Linked DNA regions of Homo sapiens: region 2 is linked to region 1. Evidence: promoter capture Hi-C in 16 types of primary human blood cells and fetal thymus (Javierre and others, 2016). All regions are on one chromosome and are shown on one strand. Each heading gives the region's core, a stretch centred on a gene start or on the middle of the fragment in contact. The rest is flanking DNA. Distances are from core to core; before and after follow the strand shown.

Region 1 (7,262 bases), core at 3,093-5,592:
CCTGTCCCTTCCCGTCCCAGCCTCCTCTTTAGAGGAACTTGAGAGTCCGCTACTGTCAAGGAGAGGAAAGAACTGCCACCCCAAAACGAGTTTGGTAATCCTGTGGTTCTTATTCTCCTGCACTAGGTTTCCCCAGCCTCAGCCAGGCAACATCTCCTGTACGCTAGCTAGGGTTACACAAATGCAACTACTCAAAAGCAATTTCTCAACACTCCTCGGCTACCTCCCTGGTATAAGCCACCTTCATCTGTCACCTGAATAACTACTATAGCCTCCCAATGTCTCCCAGCTTCAACCTTCACCTTTGCCCTACTGTCTCTTCTCCCCACAGCTGCCAGAGTGGCCCTTTCAAAATGGGGTCAGATCAAGTGACTCGTCTGCTCAGCACCCACCAGGGGCATCTCATCTCACACCGAGTACCAGTCACAGTTCTTCCAAGCTCCTATTAGCTCTCAGACCTCACCTCCACTAACTCTCCTACTGGCTCACAGTGCTGCAACTATACTGGCTTCCTTACTATTCCACAAACCTGCCAGGCAAACGTCTACCCCAGGACCTTTGCATTCACTCTACCTGTAAATTGTGTACACCCATCTCCCTCAGCTCCTATAGATATCTGCTCGAATGTTCCCTTCTCAGTGAGACCCAATGGCTCCATTTAAAACTGGACCCTGATGCTTCCTCCCTACCTTTCCTACTTTTCCTCATAGCACGTGCCACTTACCAACTCCCAACATACTGTTTTATTACTGTATTTGTTTGTCTCCCCCACTAGAATATAGGTTCAACAAAGGCAGAAGGGTTTTTTTCATGGCAGAAAAGGCAGAATTTTTTCCCCAATGTACATAAAAGTGTCTGGTACATAGTAGGTGCTTAAAAATATTTGTTGCATCCAGTAAAATCATCATTCAAATGCGAAGGAGAAATACTTTCTAAGGTAAACAAAACTTGAGGGAATGTGTTACCAATGGAATCACCTTGCAAGAAATGCCCAAAGAAGTTCTTCAGAGAGAAGGGAAATGATATAGTTCAGAAACTCAGATCTATGTAAAGAAAAGTGCATTAGAGGAGAAATAAATGAAGGCACTAATTTAGGAGCTGTGACTATAGCAAAACAAAAACAGGTTTTACCAAGTACATGGCTTGATTGAAGCCACTAACTTTCCATAATCATGTCCTGCTGATTACCTACTAGATACAGCTACTTTATAGAATAATTAAGACTGCAGGATCAGGCCGGGCGCCGTGGCTCACGCCTGTAATCCCAGCACTTTGGGAGGCTGAGGCGGGTGGATCACGAGGTCAGGAGATTGAGACCATCCTGGCTAACACAGTGAAAACCCGTCTCTACTAAACATACAAAAAATTAGCCAGGCATGGTGGCAGACGCCTGTAGTCCCAGCTACTCGAGAGGCTGAGACAGGAGAATAGCGTGAACCCGGGAGGTGGAGCTTGCAGTGAGCTGAGATTGCGCCATTGCACTCCAGCCTGGGCACAGAGGGAGACTCCGTCTCAAAAAAAAAAAAAAAAAAAAAAAAACCCTCGGGAGCTTTCAGACCCTTTGAATACAAACACTTCCCTGTTGGGGATCAAACATGCAGCTTTAAAAGGCTTGTTCTTCCCCTAGGAGGAATGCACTCAGAATTCAAGAATCTGTGAAAAACATTTTTCTAAAAATGAAAAACAGGCTTGTTGAGGTGGATCACATCTGTAATCCCAGCACTCTGGGAAGCTGAGGTGGGAGGATAGCTTGAGGCCAGGAGTTCAAGACCAGCCTGGGTAACATAACAAGACCCCCATCTGTACAAAAACTTAAAAAATTAGCTGGGTATGATGGCTCATGCCTGTAGTCCCAGCCACGGGAGGCTGAGGTGGGAGGGTCACTTAAGCCCAGGAGTTCGAGGCTGCAGTCAGCTATCATTGCACCACTGCACTCTAGCCTGGGTGACAGAGCAAGACTCTGTCTCTTAAAAAAAAAAAAAAAAAAAAAAACCTTAAAAGATTACTACAAGAAATATTGTTGTTCTACAAAGAAATGAAAAAGCAATTGTTGACCAGGTGTGGTAGCTCACACCTGCACTTTGGGAGGCTGAGGTGGGTGGATCACCTGAGGTCAGGAGTTCGAGACCAGGTTGGCCAGCATGGTGAAACCCCATCTCTAATAAAAATACAAAAATTAGCTAGGTGTGGTGGCAGGTGCCCGTAATTCCAGCTACTTGATTGCTTGAACCTGGGCGGTGGAGGTTGCAGTAAGCCAAAATCACACCACTGCACTCCAGCCTGGGCGACAAGAGCGAAATTCCATCTCAAAAAAAAAAAAAAAGCAATTGTTAAATGAACACATGAAGAGGTTTGCTTTACCTCCTGGAAAATAGATGCTGTTGGGCTGAGAACAATAATCCCAATTGTGTTGCACATTGGAATCCCCAAGGGATTTTTCCAAATAAAAATCCCAGGTGTGGTGGCTCACCCGTTTAATCCCAGCACTTTGGGAGGCCGAGGTAGGTGGATCGCCTGAGGTCAGGAGTTCGACACCAGCCTGGCCAACATGGTGAAACCCCGTCTCTACTAAAAATACAAAAATTAGCTGGGCATGGTGGTGGGCGCCTGTAATCCCAGCTACTTGGGAGGTTGAGGAGAACCCAGGAGGCAGAGGTTGCAGTGAGCCAAGATTGCACCATTGCACTCCAGCCTGGGTGACAAGAATGAAACTGTCTCAAAACAAACGAACAAACAAAACTAATGCTTGGCTCCCACCTCTGACATTGTGATTTAGTTATTGAGGGGCATAATTTGGGCATAAGGATTGTTTTAAAAGCTCTCTAGGTGATCCTAATGTGCAGCAAAGTTTGGGAACCAATGGCTAAAAGGTCCTCAGGGTGGCAGCCACAGTGGGGCCCGTAGTAGTGTTTGCACTGCCCTTTACACCTCTCAGGGCCTGGGCATCCTATGCAGCTGGTGGTCCCACTAGGCAGCAAGAGCTTCTCTCGTCATTGTGTATACTCCAGGACCTCAGCACACAGCAGTAGGATAACACACTAAGCCCCCTTTCTGCACCAAAATGCTGACTTCTTATTAGAGAGAAGGGGAGAGAAACAACCTCCAATGCTTTATACTCAGAACCCAGAGACAACCTTGTAAGTCAAACTAAAACTGAAATAGGATATGTGCTTGGCCTAACACTGTGCTGTAGAATTCGTGCATCGTAAAAGAGAACTTAGCTGAGCTGGTGGGACATTTCTCATCCCACCTCACAGCAGAACTGATACAGGTGATGTGGCTGGCATCCCTCCTGAAGCCCAGGACGCAAAGCCAAGGATGCTGAAGAGAGGGAAGTCTTTCGGATGGAGGAGAGCAATTTTTAGAGGGTCCCACAGTCTATTCGTAGCAAATGGGACTCTGAGGTCACCTAATCTGGTCTTGCAGCTGGGATCTTTGAGGACTACTGGGGTGGTGACTTGCCCAGGATCACACAGCCAGCCATTATAAGAGCCAGGCCAGAACTCCAGGCTATGATTCCCTACAATGTGGGGCCTGGAAACATCCATAATTAATTTAGAACAAGGGGCAGATAACGGTACATTAGATTTTTCCAGTGGGAGGAATTAGATAAGGAAGAATGAGCAAATTAGAAAAAGAAAGCCTAGAGAAAAGAATGAAGAACATGAATCTCATGTTAAATAACAAACACATCACACCCGGCCCTCCACCCCAGCTTCCACCTCCAGCCCTGCCAACTGAAAACTGTCATTTCCTGGCAGTGCTTAAAACAAAGACTCTAGATAATTCCCCAGGGACTCACCGGCAAGCTGCTGGTCCCACTTACCCTGCCGCACAGCAGACATCAGCTGTACTCCCTCTTCTGCCCCGTGAAGACCTTTGGCTGCAGTGCCGCCGCTCATTCAAGTGACCGAGATCCTCTCTAAGGCGCCCTCCCCCACACCCCCCGCCCCGCACAGCCCTCTGGACGCCTTGAAGTACGGAGCCGCAGCCTTATCCTAAAGAAAGGCACAGCTCTGACAAGAAAAGGCAATCCGGGAGCCTTTCCCTAGCCGTTTAAAATGAAACTCACCGTTCTTGCTCCCGTGAGCTGTTGCAAATAATCTTGAATCTCGTTAGTGTGGTTGGTGGCTGTGATATCGACAAATTCCAGAAGCCCTTGTTTGATGGGCAATTGACTGAGGATCTCTTGGGCCCTCCTGCAGTACGGGCAGGTGGGCTTGATGAACACAACCACCTTCCCAGGCTGGATTTTGCAGTTCACAAACTCTTGAGCCATGCCGATGGGCTGCGGTCTCCCCGGGAAGAATCCTCAGTTGCAGGTATTGCTTGGGGTATTGAGCCCCGACCCAGCCAGTTGGCTCCTATTTAATAAGGAACCTCCCTGGAGGCGGAGTTTGCCTGGTAGCTTGCTCGAGTTTTAAAGGGACAGCTTCGAAGACATTTCCATCTGGTATACTTCACTAGTTAGCAATGCCCAGGAATGCAATACTTGCTATTTAATCATTGGTAGCTATGAAAGACACTCTGGGTATCTTTGTTGTCCTTGGACATTTGGGGAGTGCCTGCCCATTGGCAATGATCAGAGTTTAGTCACCTCTGGGGAAGCATAAAGTGCTTACTCACAAAGGGGCTGAGGAGGCAGTGACTTCTTAGAGCAAATTCTTGTTTTCCCTCTAGGAGATACAGTTGTATTTTAAAATGCAAACAGAATCACTTAAGAAACAGAACACTTGGAAATCTCTTTAGAAGAAGTGAAATTGAAACTGTGACTTTGCACTCCTCATGAAGGTTGCTCTCACAGCATTTTGCTTGGACTGTATGGTGGGTGTTTGTTGTTGTGATCTTTTTAATGGAATTCATTCTCAGTATTTAAAAATCTGGAGGTCTCACAAAACAATTCGGACTTAAAACTTCTCTCTGAAAAGTCAGGTCGGGCAATACAGAGCTTGCACCTTTTAGTGGAAGCTGCTGGGGCTGACAGCTGTTGCCCCCTTTGTATAGGGCAAGTAGTGGCTTTGGTTTGCCACAGGTCCCAACGACAGGCCCATGCCTGAGACACCGGCTTCACCCCATAACCATTTGAGTTGGTAACCCTTGAACAGCAGTTTAATATGGAGGCAAATTCCAACACAATCCTTGATACAAAACTACAGATGAAATGAGAATCTTTTTTTCTGGTTGAGCCTATGTTTGTGACCCTCTGCTTTTAACTGTTTGTGAGGGGAAGTAGTGTTGTAACTCAGACACCACATTCACTTCAAGTGTTATAAGACACGGGTTGTAACAGTAGGAAATCTTTCGCTCTTCCCCAGGGTGCCCATTCTCCTTATCCCGCAAAGCAAAGTCCTCTACTCCTGGGTCTAGTTCCGGCCCCCTCTAGTGTATGGTAGCTTAAATAAACAAATCAAGGAAAAACTATGTCCTTTAAACGTGAATCATCCTTTCCCCAGGAAGTTTTATGGTGAAACCAGAGTATCTTCAAAGAGGCGGGGCCAAGGCCAGAGCTGGACACCACGACTGCCACGTAAGAGGAATCCCAAGCATACTGCGATCAAGGGAAGGGAAGAAAATCCACTCCCAGAAGCAGCTTTTTACTGTGACTCTCATCGTTACTAGAATTAAAATGGCAAAATGAGAAAGCCAGATTCTGAGTCACGGAGGGGGAGCTAAGTGACAGCTCTGTCCAGAGAAAAGGATGTGGCAGGGCTGGGAGGCCCCTCACGTGGTCAGGGCTCCGGACTTCCCACTTCCCACTTCCCTCCAAAGTAGGCTCTGCCACAGAGTCTGAGCCTCCTCTCTTTTTTCATTCTTTTACCTCAGAACCCTGTGGCCAGGCTCCTTCCAGAGGCCCCTGCCAGGAGGTCCAGGGTCTGTTTCAGGGCCCTCAGGCTGTTGCCTTAAGTTCCCTCAGCCTGAGGTTTATCCACACGACTTGCACCTGCTACTCACTCAGAGCCTTTCTCTTCTCCGGTCTGTTGTTGGCTCCTCCCTTCCTGGTGCCTCAGCCTGCCACTGTGTTCAAGTTAAAAGCCACCACCACCACCACCACTCCCCATTTCCTGCTTTCCTGCCTCTGCCCTTTCATGAAATTTACTGTCTGTACCTTTCTCACCTCCATTCTCTCATTTTGTTGTTATCTGACCTTGTCAACCATTCTGCTGAATTGTTGGCAGACACTAATCATGGCCTCTATGTCACCAAATGACCATTTAGCTAGGTATCCTGACCTTTTGCAAATTAGTCACCTGCCCCAAGAGGCTGGGATCCAGGGAGACTATTGTCTGCCTCTCACTCAGTCCCGGGGACTGCCTGGTGTCTGAAGCCTTAGGACAGATGGCCATAAGGCACAAGCTAAAGGCAATTTTTTTGTGAGGCACCATGTGGAAAATGGGAGACAAAGAGATGGCAAAGAACGGGTGTCCTCTCCATTTCTCAGAAAATGCTGTGGCTTCAACTCAGTGAAAAATGACAAGCATAGAAGCCTCTGCTGCATTGTACAGCAGGAGCTGAAACCCAGCATGGACCTTAGGGCATCTCAATGGAAAGCCGCCATGGGGACTGCAGATGCGTCAAGTGCTGTGGATGGAAAGAGGGTGTGCGTGTGGACTAACACGTGTGGACTCTCCTTTGGCTTGTGTGAGACACTCCCAGGCACTCTCAGAAAATACACCTTGGAGGGTGGGAAGTGAGGGCATTTTTTAGGGGAGAATCAGTCCTGCTTTACAGATGGTTGGCAACAAGCTAGTGAAATATGTGTGGTTACTCTTTTTTTTTTTTTTTTTTTTTTTGAGACGGAGTCTCACTCTGTTGCCCAGGCTGGAGTGCAGTGGCACGATCTCTGCTCACTGCAAGCTCCGCCTCCCGGGTTCACACCATTCTCCTGCCTCAGCCTCCTGAGTAGCTGAGACTACAGGCACCCGCCACCATACCCGGCTAATTTTTTGTATTTTTAGTAGAGACGGGGTTTCACCGTGTTAGCCAGGATGGTCTCGATCTCCTGACCTCGTGATCTGCCCACCTCAGCCTCCCAAAGTGCTGGGATTATAGGCGTGAGCCACCGTGCCCGGCCAATGTGACTTCATTTGTACTCACAGGCTGATGAGGGCTGCAAAAAATGTGGCCACAAACGAACATTCTTCAGGGTTTTTCCTTACCCACTGTGCAGGGTTTGACCTTGTAGATCACTGCAGGCCTCTGGAAGTTCTCTTCCCACTGCCCATTGCAGCATGATCTTTTTGCTCTTTCTATTGGATATTGTC
Region 2 (7,262 bases), core at 1,249-3,748, 3.2 Mb after region 1:
GCAGCTGAGAGTTCTTGGAGAAAAATCACACAGCCATACCAATTGATGTCACTGTATGTTGTTGCTTTCTGACCAAGGCTGAGTCCTCAGTTATGGTGAAGGTGCTTCTGATCAACTGACAGTGGGTATTCCAAACATTTACTTCCCTTACTGTCAAAACCACCAACTCTTCTTACACTCAGCAAATGATGATTCTGTCCTTTTCATTGTGAAAAGGCAAGGGCAGAAAGTGAAAACGGCACCTTCCTCTCCCTCTTACTTATTCGCTTATTTATTGGCATTTTTACTTCTCCTTCCTGTTGGAAAAGGTGCCCATCTAACTCGAGGCTCATTTCTCAACCTGTAGATTGGATTCCATCCTCTTCTGTGTACTCAATGACTTTATTATATCAATCATCGCCCTCTTTCCTGTTTTACTTCAGAAAATAAACAGAACAGTGGTTTGTCTTATTGAAAATGAAAGCAAAAGTAAAATTACCTTGGCAGTTTTGGGTCTCTAATTATAAGCCAAAGAAACAAATTGAGAACAACTTATGGAAAAAATGATATTCATTGGAAATATACTGGTATAATGCAGAACAGAAGAAAATACTAAACAGTCAAGCTTCCTGAGGGCAGAAAGTACAGGACCACTGAAATGAAACCGTGGACATGCATAATCATGTATGTTTACTAAGGTTCAACTACCTTTCCTCCTTGTGTCACCACTTAAGATTTAGCTCCTAGGAAGGAAACATTTGATTGGCCAAGCCCACCAGAAACATGTGCAGAGGAGATGCTCCTGATACCTGCACCATTGAATTCCATAAGGCACAGTTCAGGGAACTTTGCTTTGTCCTTATTTTGTTTGATTTATCGGTAGCAGTTCTCCTTCTGGAGTCCTTCTCCTTTGTTTTCTGTGGCATTATTCTTTCCTTAAAAAGAAAAAAGATAATTCTTTTTAGTCTCCATTGTAGGTTCCCTTTTTTTCTGCTTAAACAGTAAGTGTTATCTTCCTCATGGGTTCAACTTCGATCACTGTTATATTACAAACTTCCTCCTGCCAAATCTTCGTTTTGAGTTTGCGATGGAACCTACGATTGAATTTCCAATAAAATTCAGTATATCTAAAAGTGAACTTATGTATTTCAAACCTGCGCTTTACTTGAATGCCACATTTTCATAAATGGCATATCTCTTATCCAGTCACCCAATCCACTTCCCTGGGAGTCTTCCTAGGTCACTCTCACTTATACTCAATCAATCCCTAATCCCTGTGGCTTTTAATTCCTTGGTATCTCTTGTTCTCCTCTTTCCTAAACTCATAACCACTTTTTAAATTAAGGTCTTAATGACTTCTCACCTAAATTGCTACATTAGCCTCCTCAAAAGGTTTCCTTACACATCATACTCCGTTTCTTACAGAGTGATCCTTCTAAAATGCTAATCTGCTCTGCAAACTCAGATTCAGTCCTTTATCTTTCAGGATAAACTTCAAGGCTTAACCCACACATTCTGTCTTTGGCCACTTTCCAAGCTTCAGGGATGGCTACTTCCTTACTGCTATATTGTAAAACAAGCAGGTTTCCAGTTGGAGGGACTAGAATTGTTTTTTAACCTTGACTGAATGTAAGAATTTCTGGGGACATATTAAACATGCAGATTCTTGGCCTGACCCTAAACATATTAAATTGGAATCTCCAGGAGTGGGGCTTATGTCTCTACTGATTTTTTTTTTTTTTTTTGAGACAGAGTTTTGCTCTTGTTGCCCAGGCTGGAGTGCAGGGGCGTGATCTCAGCTCACTGCAACCTCCACCTCCTGGGTTCAAGTGATTCTCCTGTCTCAGCCTCCTGAGTAGCTGGGATTACAAGTGCCCGCCACCACGCCCGGCTAATTTTTTGTATTTTTAGTAGAGACAGAGTTTCATCATGTTGGCCAGGCTGGTATCAAACTCCTGACCTCAGGTGATCCACCCGCCTCGGCCTCCCAAAGTGCAAGGATTACAGGCGTGAGCCACTGTGCCTGGCAGTCTCTACTGATTTTTATGATCAAGCCAGTTTGTGAATTAATGATTGACTGTTTCTAGGCAGTCCTTTTACTTATGCTGTTTGTTCTGCAATTCCCAATCCCCTTGTCCTTCAATAGTTTAGTTAGTGTCACTTTACAGGTGACTCTCATTCTTACTTAGAGGCCTCTTCTCTGTGTTCCTGTACCGCGTAGGACTATCTCTGTCTTAGTACCCATCACATAATATTTGACTAACTTACCTATCTTATAACTGCTCTAAAAACTTATCTTTGTTTTCCCAGTACATAAAAGACAAACAGTAGGCATTTGGCAAAAATTACTTTGATATGTAAAAACAAATAAAAAGCTCACTACACTTTTTGCTGTTATGGATTCTTTCTGTTGCTTTATCTCTAAGGAGTTACTCATAAGATGAATATTGTTCAATTACTTAAAAACACCATTATTACTATGATTCCTTTAAAATCATATTATAGAATAATATTTTTTGATATGTGAAAATATTATAATGTACTACTAAGGGAAAAATAGGCTAAAATTTATATAATATGACTTTTTTGGTAAAAATTTTAAAACAAATTAAGTTAAAAATGCATATATAAAAACATATTGAGAAGACATACATTGTAATTTTATTACTCTTTGATTATGAAATAATGGGTGATTTTGTATCTACTTTCTATCAGAAGTATGTACATCTAAAACTTTTTTTATTTGTATAAATTTAAGGGCACAAGTGCAGTTTTGTTACATGGATATTTTGGATAATGGTGAAGTCTGGGGCTTTTAGTGTGACCATCTTCTGAATAATGTACATCGCACCTATTAAGCCACTTTTCATCCCTCACTCCCCTCCCACCTTCCCATCCTTCTGAGTCTCCAGTGTCTCTTACTCCACACTCTATGTCCATGTGTACATGTTACATTGCTACCATTTGTAAGTGAGAACATGTAGTATTTGACTTTCTGTTTCTGAGTTATTTCACTTAATATAATGGCCTCCAGTTCTATCCATGCTACTGAAAAAGATGATTTCATTCTTTTTTATGGTTGACTAGTCATTCATTGTATGTACATATACCACAGTTTCTCTACTCATCCATTGACAGATACTTAGGTTGATTCTAAGTCTTTGTTACTGTGAACCATGCTGCAATAAACATGAGTACAGATATCTTTTCAAGATAAAGATTTCTTTTTCTTTGGGTAGATACCCGGTAGTGGGATTGCTGGATCAAATGGTAATTCAACTTTTAGTTCTTTGAGAAATTTCCATGCTATTTTCCAGAGAGGTTGTACTTATTTACACTCTCATCAACAGTGTATAAGCATTCCCTTTTCTCCACACCCTCACCCACATCTGTTGTTTTTTGACTTTTTATAATAGCCATCCTGGCTTGTGTAAGATGATATCTCATTGTAGTTTTAATTTGCATTTTTTTGATGATAAGTAATATTAAGCATTTTAACAATAAGCTTGTTGGCCATGTGTATATCTTTTGAGAAATGTCTGTTCATGTCCTTTGCCCACTTTTTAATGGGGTTGTTTTGTTATTGTTGTTGTTGAGCTGTTTGAGCTCCTTGTAAATTCTGGATATTAGCCCTCTTTCAGACATATAGTTTGCAAATATTTTCTCCTATCCTACAGGTTGTCTGTTCACTCTATTGATTGTTTCTTTTGCTGTGCAGAAGCCTTTGAGTTTAATTAAGTCCCATTTGTTTATTTTTGTTTTTGTTGCTTGCACTTTTGAGGTCTTAATCATGAATTCTTTGAGTAGACCAATGTCCAGAAGAGTTTTCCTTAGGTTTTCTTCCAGGATTTTTATAGTTCCAGGTGGAAGTATATAAATTTTATAATTAAAATATTATGATAAAAAGCATATACATACTCTCTTCCTCAATCTACTTTGAAGTAGTGTGCACATACACATACATGCACACACACTTTGCACACACATGACAAAATAAAAAGAAATATTTGAGTCCTCGAAAACTTAACTTTTCTATGGAAAGCCAAAAACTATTTGGTGAAAATGAAGTACTGAACTGATAAAGAATGGAATGAATATGTGAATAAAATGTGAATATGTGATAAGGAATAGAGTGAATAAGATAATTATCTACTAATTAGAAAAAAAAGACAGGTATGTTTGTAAACCTATCATGTAGGTATACAATTCTTTACAATTTGTGAGTGAAGAGGACTCAGGAAAGAATCTCTTGGGTTATCAGCCTCCTGGGCAAGAGGGCCAAACAGGAACAGATCTGGTCTGCAGCTCCCAGCAAGATCGACACAGAAGGTGGGTGATTTCTGCATTTTGGACTGAGGTACCTGGTTCAACTCATTGGGACTGGTTGGACAGTGTGTGCAGCCCACGGAGGGTGAGCTGAAGCAAGGTGGGGCGTTGCTTCACCCAGGAAGCGCAAGGGGTCTGGGAATTCTCTCCCCTACCCAAGGGAATCCGTAAAGGACTGTGCCTGAGGAACAGTGTACCCCAGCCCAGATACTGCACTTTTCTCATGGTCTTTGCAAACCACAGACCAGGAGATTCCCTCCAGTGTCTATGCCATCAGGGCCCTGGGTTTCAAGCACAAAACTGCACGGCCATTTGGGAGATACCAAGCTAGCTGCAGGAGTTTTTTATTCCATACCCCAGTGGCACCTAGAACACCAGCGAGACAGAACCATTCACTCTCCTGGAAAGGGAGCCGAAGCCAGGGAGCCAAGTGGTCTGGCTCGGTGGGTCCCACCCCAACACAGCCCAGCAAGCTAACATGGACTGAAATTCTCGCTGCCAACCTAGCAGTCTGAGGTCGACCTGGGACACTTGAGCTTGGTGTGGGGAGGGGCATCTGCCATTGCTGAGGCTTGAGTAGGCGGTTTTACCCTCACAGTGTAAACAAAGCATCCAGGAAGTTGGAACTGGGTGGAGCCCACCGCAACTCAGCAAGGCAGCTGTGGCCAGACTGCCTCTCTAGATTCCTCCTCTCTGGGCAAGGCATCTCTGAAAAATAGGGCAGCAGCCCCAGTCAGGGGCTTATAGATAAAACCCCCATCTCCCTGGGACAGAGCACCTGGGGGAAGGGGCGGCTGTGGGTGCAGCTTCAGCATTCTTAAATGTTCCTGCCTGCTGGCTCTGAAGAGAGCAGTGGATCTCCCAGCACAGTGCTCAAGCTCGGCTAAGGGTCAGACTGCCTCCTCAAGTGGGTCCCTGACCCCCATGTATCCTGGCTGGGAGACACCTCCCAGTAGGGTCTGAAGGACACCTCATACAGGAGAGCTCTGGCTGGCATCTGGCAGGTGCCCCTCTGGGACGAAGCTTCCAGAGGAAAGAATAGGCAGCAATCTTTGCTGTTCTGCAGCCTTCACTGGTAATACCCAGGCAAACAGGGTCTGGAGTGGACCTCCCACAAACTCCAGCAGACCTGCAGCAGAGGGTCCTGACTGTTAGAAGGTAGAAGGAAAACTAACAAAAAGAAAGGAATAGCACATCCACTCAGAGACATCATCCAAAGGTCACCAACATCAAAGACCAAAGGTAGATAAATTCACGAAGATGGGGAGAAACCAATGAAGGCTGAAAATTCCAAAAACCAGAATGACTCTTCTCCTCCAAAGGATTACAACTCCTCGCCAGCAAGGGAAGAAAACTGAATGGAGAAAGAGTTTGACAAATTGACAGAAGCAGGCTTCAGAAGGTGGGTAATAACAAACTGCTCTGAGCTAAAGGAGCATGTTTAACACAATGCAAGAAAGAACCTTGCATAGGAAGAACCTAAGAACCTTCAAAAACAAATGAGATGAATTGCTACCTAGAATAACCAGTTTAGAGAAGAACATAAATAACCTGACAGAGCTGAAAAACACAGCACGAGAACTTTGTGAAGCATACATAAGTATCAATAGCTGAATTGATCAAGTGGAAGAAAGGATATCAGAGATTGAAGATCAACTTAATAAGGTAAAGTGAGAAGACAAGTTTAGAGAAAAAAGAATGAAATGGAATGAACAAAGTCTCCAAGAAATATGGGACTATGTGAAAACACCAAATCTACATCTGATTGGTGTACTTGAAAGTGAAAGGGAGAATGGAACCAAGTTGGAAAACACTCTTCAGGATATTATCCAGGAGAACTTCCTCAACCTAGCAAGGCAGGCCAACATTCAAATTCAGGAAATACAGAGAACACCACAAAGATGCTCCTCGAGAATAGTAACCCCAAGACACATAATTGTCAGATTCACCAAGGTTGAAATGGAAGAAAAAATGTTAAGGGCTTCCAGAGAGAAAGGTTGGGTTACCCACAAAGGGAAGCCCATCAGACTAACAGCAGATCTCTCTGCAGAAACCCTACAAGACAGAAGACAGTGGGGGCCGATATTCAACATTCTTAAAAGAATTTTCAACCCAGAATTTCATATCCAGCCAAACTAAGTTTCATAAAAGAAGGAGAAATCAAATCCTTTACAGAAAAGCAAATGCTGAGAGATTTTGTCACCATCAGGCCTGCCTTACAAGAGCTCCTGAAGGAAGCACTAATCATGGAAAGGAACAACCGGTACCAGCCACTGCAAAAACACACCAAATTGTAAAGACCATCGATGTTATGAAGAAACTGGAACAACTAATGGGCAAAATAACCAGCTAGCATCATAATGACAGGATCAAATTCACACATAACAATATTAACCTTAAATGTAAACAGGCTAAATGCCCCAATTAAAAGACACAGACTAGCAAATTGGATAAAGAGTCAAGACCCATTGCTGTGCTGTATTCAGGAGACACATCTCACATGCAAAGACACACGTAGGCTCAAAATAAAGGGATGGAGGAATTTTTACCAAGTAAATGGAAAGAAAAACAAACAAACAAACAAAAATCAACACTTGCAATCCTAATCTCTGATAAAACAGACTTTAAACCAACAAAGATCAAAAAAGACAAAGAAGGGGATTACATAATGGTCAAGGGATCAATGCAACAAGAAGAGCTAACTCTCCTAAATATATATGCACCCAATACAGGAGCACCCAGACTCATAAAACAAGTTCTTAGAGACCTACAAAGAGACTTAGACTCCCACACAATAATAGTGGGGGACTTCAGCAACCCACTGTCAATATTAGATAGATCAATGTGACAGAAAATTAACAAGGATGTTCAGGACTTGAACTCAGCTTTGTACCAAGCTGACCTAATTGACATCTACAGAACTCTCCACCCCAAATCAACAGAATATACATTCTTCT

What was found. The method cuts DNA at HindIII sites, captures the fragments that hold promoters and counts their contacts. A CHiCAGO score of 5 or more calls a contact.
Region 2: a contact is called between a fragment that was not itself captured here and the fragment with the promoter of GLRX in region 1, in 1 of 17 cell types (non-activated CD4 T cells). The highest score is 6.1, in non-activated CD4 T cells.

Annotation. Positions count from the first base shown.
Region 1 is chr5:95,818,384-95,825,645 of GRCh38, forward strand. It overlaps GLRX (glutaredoxin), which reads right to left and starts at 4,343. Exons shown (of 3, transcript NM_001118890.2): 1 at 4,073-4,343. The coding sequence starts at 4,279. RefSeq lists enhancers at 2,715-2,854, 4,771-4,860, 5,091-5,591. The HindIII fragment of the contact is 7,969 bases long and covers 1-7,262 here.
Region 2 is chr5:99,033,067-99,040,328 of GRCh38, forward strand. No RefSeq gene overlaps it. Among named protein-coding and RNA genes, the nearest start is that of CHD1, 110 kb to the left of the region's middle. RefSeq lists enhancers at 358-417, 4,041-4,705, 4,706-5,369. The HindIII fragment of the contact is 1,968 bases long and covers 1,515-3,482 here.